2 separate regions of the Homo sapiens genome follow, and region 1 is linked to region 2. The links are contacts of gene promoters, found by promoter capture Hi-C in blood cells and fetal thymus (Javierre and others, 2016). All regions are on one chromosome and are shown on one strand. Each heading gives the region's core, a stretch centred on a gene start or on the middle of the fragment in contact. The rest is flanking DNA. Distances are from core to core; before and after follow the strand shown. Region 1 overlaps TLR9 (toll like receptor 9). Region 2 holds the start of DNAH1 (dynein axonemal heavy chain 1).

Region 1 (3,989 bases), core at 1,464-3,963, 97 kb after region 2:
GCGCCTGTGGGGCGGCCTTTATGGACTTCCTGCTGGAGGTGCAGGCTGCCGTGCCCGGTCTGCCCAGCCGGGTGAAGTGTGGCAGTCCGGGCCAGCTCCAGGGCCTCAGCATCTTTGCACAGGACCTGCGCCTCTGCCTGGATGAGGCCCTCTCCTGGGACTGTTTCGCCCTCTCGCTGCTGGCTGTGGCTCTGGGCCTGGGTGTGCCCATGCTGCATCACCTCTGTGGCTGGGACCTCTGGTACTGCTTCCACCTGTGCCTGGCCTGGCTTCCCTGGCGGGGGCGGCAAAGTGGGCGAGATGAGGATGCCCTGCCCTACGATGCCTTCGTGGTCTTCGACAAAACGCAGAGCGCAGTGGCAGACTGGGTGTACAACGAGCTTCGGGGGCAGCTGGAGGAGTGCCGTGGGCGCTGGGCACTCCGCCTGTGCCTGGAGGAACGCGACTGGCTGCCTGGCAAAACCCTCTTTGAGAACCTGTGGGCCTCGGTCTATGGCAGCCGCAAGACGCTGTTTGTGCTGGCCCACACGGACCGGGTCAGTGGTCTCTTGCGCGCCAGCTTCCTGCTGGCCCAGCAGCGCCTGCTGGAGGACCGCAAGGACGTCGTGGTGCTGGTGATCCTGAGCCCTGACGGCCGCCGCTCCCGCTACGTGCGGCTGCGCCAGCGCCTCTGCCGCCAGAGTGTCCTCCTCTGGCCCCACCAGCCCAGTGGTCAGCGCAGCTTCTGGGCCCAGCTGGGCATGGCCCTGACCAGGGACAACCACCACTTCTATAACCGGAACTTCTGCCAGGGACCCACGGCCGAATAGCCGTGAGCCGGAATCCTGCACGGTGCCACCTCCACACTCACCTCACCTCTGCCTGCCTGGTCTGACCCTCCCCTGCTCGCCTCCCTCACCCCACACCTGACACAGAGCAGGCACTCAATAAATGCTACCGAAGGCTAGATGGCTAACTCTGAGCTCACTGGAGGCATGGACAGGAGGAGGGAAGGGAGAATTCTCCAGGCCTCCACGAAGCAGCTTAGGGAAAATTGCCATAAAGACGGGACAGAGGTCTGCAGGGGAGGAAGCTGCTAAGCTCTGTTCTCTGGGGAGTCTGATGATGGTCACTGGATGTGGTCTTGGTCCTTCCCAGAGAGTAGGGGCCTCTTTTAGCCCCTCCCAGAATGCCCTGCCCTACCTTTCCCATGCAGAACCGGGCAGCACCTGACAGACTTGGCAGCACCCCTTTGTTGTGTATGGGTCTCAGGTTGTCTGTCTCCCTCGCCTACTGGACTGGAATGCCTTGAGGGCAGAGAAGCTGCAGGCTTGGTTCCTTTCTGGCGCTCAGCAAAGTCTTGAGTGGCAGCAGCTATGGGGACTGTTCATTCCAAAACGGTAGAATGAATTGCAGCAAAGGTGGAGGGGTGATTGCGCCCTCTGGTGGCCATGCCTGTGCCAAGCGGAGAAGGCTGGTTCAGGGTCGGGAGGGGAAGGCCTGTGGGTGCATCCCTGCAGCAGGGAGCTGGGAGCCACAGACAGGAGAATCCACTCCTTTCTCTTTCCACCTACAGGTGCTTGCTGGGTCTCTCCATTCTGATATTAAAGGGACACCTAGGCAAGCCACCTCCCTCCCTCCCTCCCTCCTTCCCTCTCTCCCTCCCTCCCTCCGTCCCTCCCTCCTTCCTCCCTCCCTCCCTCCTTCCTTCCTTTCTCTCTCTCTCTCTCTCTCTCTCTCTCTTCTTTCTTTCTGAGACAAGGTCTCACTCTGTCACCCAGGCTGGAGTGCAGTGGCATGAACACTGCAGCCTTGACCTCCTGGGCTCAAGCGATCCTCCCACCTCAGCCTCCTGAGTAGTTAGGACCACAGGGGTGCACCACCATACTCAGCGAATTTTTTATTTTTTTGTAGAAACAGGATCTCACTATGTTGCCTAGGCTGGTCTCAGACTCTTGGATGCAAGTGATCCTCCCGCCTCAGCCCCACAAAATGCTGGGATTATAGGCGTGAGCCACCAAGCCTGACCTTTTTTTTTTTTTTTTTTTTTGCCACAGTCTTGCTCTGTCACCCAGGCTGGAGTGCAATGCAATGGTGGGATCACAGCTCACTGCAGCCTCAACCTTCTGGGACCAGGTGCTCCATCTCACCCTCCCATGTAGCTGAGACTACAGGCCACACCCAGCTAAATTTTATATTTTTAGTAGAGACCAGGTTTCACCACGTTGCCCAGGCTGGTCTTAAGCTCCTGGGCTCAAGCAATCCTCCTGCCTCGGCCTCCCAAAGTGCTGGGATTACAGGTGTGAGCCACTGCACCCGGCTTCTATATGTGATAGTGTACATTTCAGGATAGAGCTGGGAGCCCCAATGACCAGTGTTTGGAGAGGTCAGGGTCTGTCCTCAGCAGGATCTCCTCCACACTGTGTGTGGAGCCATGAGGAGCGTCAGGCCTGGAGCCCCTGAGGGGCCCTCTCTTGGGCTGGCAGCCTACACCATTACCACAGCCAAAACTGCCCTTTGAGGAGCAGGGGAGAAATATGCAGGCTGACAGGTTGGAGCTGGGGCCCGGTTTGGCCGGTCCAGGCCAGTTTGAGATCTGCTTGTCCACTCAGGGCCTCTGGAGGGGAGAGCTAGAGCTGGCAGCAGACAGCTAACTTGGTGGGCTCATCATGGCAGCCCTTGGAGGGTTGCTTTTGCCCTACTCCCCAGGGCATGGCTGTGGGGGAAGTCTATGCTGCCGTCCTCTTTCTGACTTGGGTACAGGGGCTCCTGTGGTGGGCTGTAGATCCCTGTTATCTGCTCATCTGAAAGAAGGAGGGTCTCTGACCTACCAATCGGAAGCCCTGTGCCCCACGTGGGCTCTGACCCAACCTGTCATCCTTCCTTGGCTGCCTGCAGAGAAAAGAAAACAATAGTCTTTTCCCCCTGGCTGGAGTCTAGGGAAGTCCACTGTTGAGTGGCTCTGAGACTATTCTGGCCACAATCAGGGGCAGGGACAGGAAGCTGGAAACAGAATCCCATTCAGGGAACCATATTTTGCATGTGGGAGGCAAGGCAAACCTGCCTGTCTTGGGATTGCCAGGCCCACCCTCCAGCAGTTCCTGGTGGACCTTCCATCTCCCCACCCCCCACCCACGCTCACAGCCCTGATGCTTTTGGGGCTGGAGATTCAGGAGAGCATTTGGAGAGGAAGCACACGGGCCATGGTAGGGGGCTGTTGGGCTCGGCTCAGGTGAGTCTGGGGGTCTGTGGCACTTGGCTCTGTGCTGTCTACGTGATCAGAGAAGCCGCGCACCACTATCTCAGGTCCTGCAGGAAGTGGTTGGAGCTGGGCCAGGGTGGGGCTGGGTGGGAGGCGGCGCCCTCTGCATTGTAGTCAGGAAGGGTACTCAGAGATGGCTCCAGGTTCTCTCCTCCACACGGCGGCCATCCTTGCCCATCAGCACGGCCAGGAAAGAGACAGGACTCAGGCCAGATTGCCTGGGCTTGCCTGCCAGTTCTGCCATTTGGATTGTCTCAGGCAGGTGACCTCCCCTACTGGAGCCTCAGCTTGCTCGCTCTATAAATGGGAATGAGCAGCGCCACTCTGCAGGACGTTGGAGGGATTCGTACACTATGGGTAAGGGTCTGAAACACTGAGCAGGGCCTCAGTTATTATTAGGTGATGGGATTTACACGCAGGACCCTCAACTGATGTGGCTTCAGTGTTTCTCTCTCCACCCAGTGCCTCCCAGGGCACTGACAGGGTTCAGATGTGGTTGCATCAGAGGCACATGCAGCTGGGACAGTAGCTGTCTCTGGGAGCAGGACCAGGGCTCCTGGGAAAGTCCATGGACCTGGTGTTATCCCCTCGTGTTGGGGAGCAGAGAGTGCTTCCCAGCACAAGGAAGTAGAGGAGCAGGCATGAGACTCAGGCAACCTGATAGAGGAAAACTTCAAGGAGAGGAATGTCTGTTCACTAAGATTTCAAATACAGTTTGCCCTTTTCCCTTTAGGACACCTTATTTAAT
Region 2 (3,585 bases), core at 842-3,341:
GGGCCCAAAAACTGGTCTGGCAAGTACAGGACTTCACTGCAAGGCTGTTTGAAGTGCACCTCCAGGCCGGGCGCAGTGGCTCACGCCTGTAATCCAAACACTTGGGCCCAGGCGGGCGGATCACCCGAGGTCAGGAGTTTAAGACCAGCTTGGTCAACAGGGTGAAACCCCGTCTCTACAAAAACACAAAAATTAGCCGGCATGATGGCGGGTGCGTATAATCCCAGCTATTCAGGAGGCTGAGGCTGGAGAATCGCTTGAACCCGGGAGGTGGAGGTTGCAGTGAGCCGAGATCGCGCCATTGCACTCCAGCCTGGGCGACAGAGCGAGACTCCGTCTCAAAAATAATAAAATAAAGTGCACCTCCCTTCTTTCCCCCTGGCCAAGGCTCAGCAACCAGACTCCTGGGAGACCCCATTCCCCACCCTCGTCCACTCGCCCTCCGCGCCTTTTCGAGGTCCCGCTGCCCGCGCTGGCCCCGCAACCCCTCCGCCTCACCGACGTACCGGTTCCACCGAGCAGTGCGGGGATGCATCAGCCCCGTCTCTAGGGAGGGACGCTAGGCCGTTGCTAAGGGGCGGGGCCATCCGGCACCGCAGGGCGGGAGCTTCCGTCCGCGAACCTCCCCAGCCTGAACCCTTACCTACCCACCAACTCCAGGTCTCGGTTACTTCCGCCCAGGACAGTGGGACTGGGATGTTCCAGCATATGCCCCGATCGGCAGGATTAGGGCCGACCAGGGAGCGTCACTCTTCTAGGCTCCATTACCCACCCATCTTCCCTCCTGTGCCCTTTTAGAGTAAGCAGCGAAACAGCTAAATGCAGCGTGAGAACTTTGATTAAATCCTGATTTAAATACATATACATATGTAAATAATTTGGGGAGGAATAATTGAAGAAATTTACGAACTGGAAGTTGGCATTTAAGCCACAGCTGCGGGACAGCTGGTCAGGGCACTGAGGAAAAGGTGGGTTCTGGTTCTCCTGGGGCTTGGCTCACAAAGCCACACCCACCCATTGCACGGTGACTCCACTCAGGCCGCCGCTTCCGCTGGGCAGCGGATGCGCCCGACACCCCTCGGCTCGGGCGCCCACCCTCTGATGCCCCTCATCTGCTCTCAGCACCTGGCATGGGTTCAGGTTTTGATCTTCCTGCCCTATTCTGAATATTGAATTATTGTTAATTTTCTTAGATGTGATAATGCTACTGTGGTTGTATCAGACTGTCCTTAGTTGACGTGGCCTGAAGTGTTTGAAGAAACACGTCAGAATGTCCGCTACAATTTCCTTTCAAATGGTTCAGCAAAAATTATACATATAGGTAAGCATAGCTAGATAAAAAGACAAAGAGGAGATAAAGCAAAAGTGCTGCAATATAACAATTAGGGAATCTGAAGGTCACAGATGTCCATGTACTAGTCTTCCAATTTTTTCTGTAAGGGAAAGAAGTGGTTTACAAACCAAAAGAACCAAAAGAAAAACATCACCCCATCTGTACCTGAGAACCCCTGCCCACAGCCTTCTCAAAACTGGCCCCATTTCACAGATGGGGAAACAGACTTGCTGAGACGGTTAGTACTAGGGGAGGTCATAGGCCCTGATGTTGAATTTTACTTGGCATTTTAGTCGTGCTGGCTTGGTGCCAGGCCTGTTGCTGGGCACTAAGTGTCTGGAACTGAACTGGACCCTATCCCCACCATAAAGTGTATTGAGTGGGAAAGATGGAGAGGCCAGGCCATGAGGAACCTAGAGGCAGGGTGTAATCTATGCCTGGAGACAGTGGTTCAGCCCTTGCACAGGCTTCTGCTTCCTCTGTCTAGAACCTGTCTCCATCCACTCCTGCATCTGGCGGACTCCTACTCACCCTTCAAGACCTGATGGTGGTGCAACCTTTCCTGAATCCAAACTGTGGTTTTATTTTTCTTGTTGGCATTCACACAGGTACTCAGTGATCACTGCAGAAGGAAGAAAGGACTGTGAGGGGAACTGGAGGCAAGGTGTCCACAGCTCTTAGAAGGGACAAGGACTCCATAGCCCTGTTTAGGGCAGTCTGGCTGCTCAATGGGTCTGCGTATAGGTTGGGTACCCCCCTTGGCCTGTAGAGAGGCACCTGCTTCCCTGCTTTTGCCTGGCACTTCCCACACTAGGTACAGCTGTCCAAAAAGCTGCAGCATCTATCCGGGTTGCCATGGCAACATCAGCCTATGGTGGGATGTCAGGGATGAGAGGGGCAGAATGCTAATCCTGGAAAGTTGCCAAGCAACACAGTGGGCTGGTGACATCACAGGGGCTGTGGCTGCTGGACAGATGGACAGGCCACAGCTGAAAGGGTCCACTCTCAGGAGGCCCAGCTCACAGAACCACTCACTGCTTACCATGTGATGGTCACTGCTGTTTCTCCCAACTGGAGAATGGACTTGAGGGGTGGGGGTCGGGGGTGCTGCTTTTACCAGCAGCCCTGCCAGCTCCACTTCGCCCCTCTTCAAGGGCGGGCTGTGGATATGACTGCCTCCCTCCTCCCTGGAAGGACACCGTGAGTCAGTCCCTGTTCTCCTGGGTCTCAGGGGCTACCCTCTAATGTGCTGTCTTCTCCCATGGCTGCGCAAGGGTTCAGGCTTTGGTCTTCCTGCCCTGTCCTGAAGGCCACCATACTTACCTTGCTCCCTGGGAAAGGAGCAGGGGGCTGAGCCATGACCCACTGGACTCCTGCCCCTCTTGTGATGGGAGGGCCATCTTTTGCCCTGAATAAGCTGGAAGAGAGGTCAGCCTTACCCTTGTTGAAATGGGAGGACTAGGTTTCTACAAGAGTTGGGGAGTCACTGCCCATCTCTTACTCAGATCCCCCTTGCTGAGGACTCTGGTGGCCTGGAAGCTGGGGGATTGGGGCAGATGGGCTGCTTAGGATGCCCTGGCCCAGGGCCATGCCTTTCCAGCATGGAGTCTGAGGTCATGGCAAGTCTGCACACCCCCTCCCCTGTGTCTCCTTGCTGGCTGAGATGGGAGCAATGCTTCACTGGCTGCAGAGATGAAAGCCCCTTGTGAATGGGCAGCAGAATGGGCCCTTCATGTGGCTGGCCAGCCAGAACGGAAGGTGACAGGCATCCAGACTGAGTGGCTGAGCTACCCGCTCCCCACCTGTCCCCAGCCTCCCTCTTGGGCCCCCAGGATCTTCCTCTGATTTTCTAGGCCTGGAGCTCTGAGCTATGCCACAAGAAAGTGAGTTGCAGGCATCGGGGGCGGGGGGTGTCAGAGAAGGGAATGGGTGAGGTCTACGATTCACTGCCTCCCCAGGCCTCCCCGACATAAGCCTCCCTGCCATTGCTCAGCTGCCCTCAGCAGTTCTGACCAGCATAATCATTTCTTTGATGAATAAAAATGGAGAAAATTTAATTCTCCTTTGATCCACATGATCACCTTGACAGACAAGACCTTGAAAGCCCAGAGCTCAAGCAAGGAGTAGAACAGAGTTTCTCCGGGGCTGGTGGACTGAAGACCACTGGCCCATGAACAGACAATCTTCATCCATCACAGCCCCCACCTAATCCCCTGCCCACCTTTACTCCTGTGCAGCCTCCCTGCCGGAGC

The links. Contacts are between HindIII fragments. The CHiCAGO score rates a contact against its expected background, and 5 or more counts as called.
Region 1: a contact is called between a fragment that was not itself captured here and the fragment with the promoter of DNAH1 in region 2, in 1 of 17 cell types (naive CD4 T cells). The highest score is 5.1, in naive CD4 T cells.

The regions. Positions count from the first base shown.
Region 1 is chr3:52,218,037-52,222,025 of GRCh38, reverse strand. TLR9 (toll like receptor 9) reads left to right here. Exons shown (of 2, transcript NM_017442.4): 2 at 1-946. The coding sequence ends at 809. Among named protein-coding and RNA genes, the nearest start is that of TLR9, 5.6 kb to the left of the region's middle. The HindIII fragment of the contact is 7,973 bases long and covers 1-3,989 here.
Region 2 is chr3:52,314,825-52,318,409 of GRCh38, reverse strand. DNAH1 (dynein axonemal heavy chain 1) reads right to left here and starts at 2,091. Exons shown (of 78, transcript NM_015512.5): 1 at 1,865-2,091. RefSeq lists a silencer at 471-700 and an enhancer at 639-1,577. The HindIII fragment of the contact is 17,475 bases long and covers 1-3,585 here.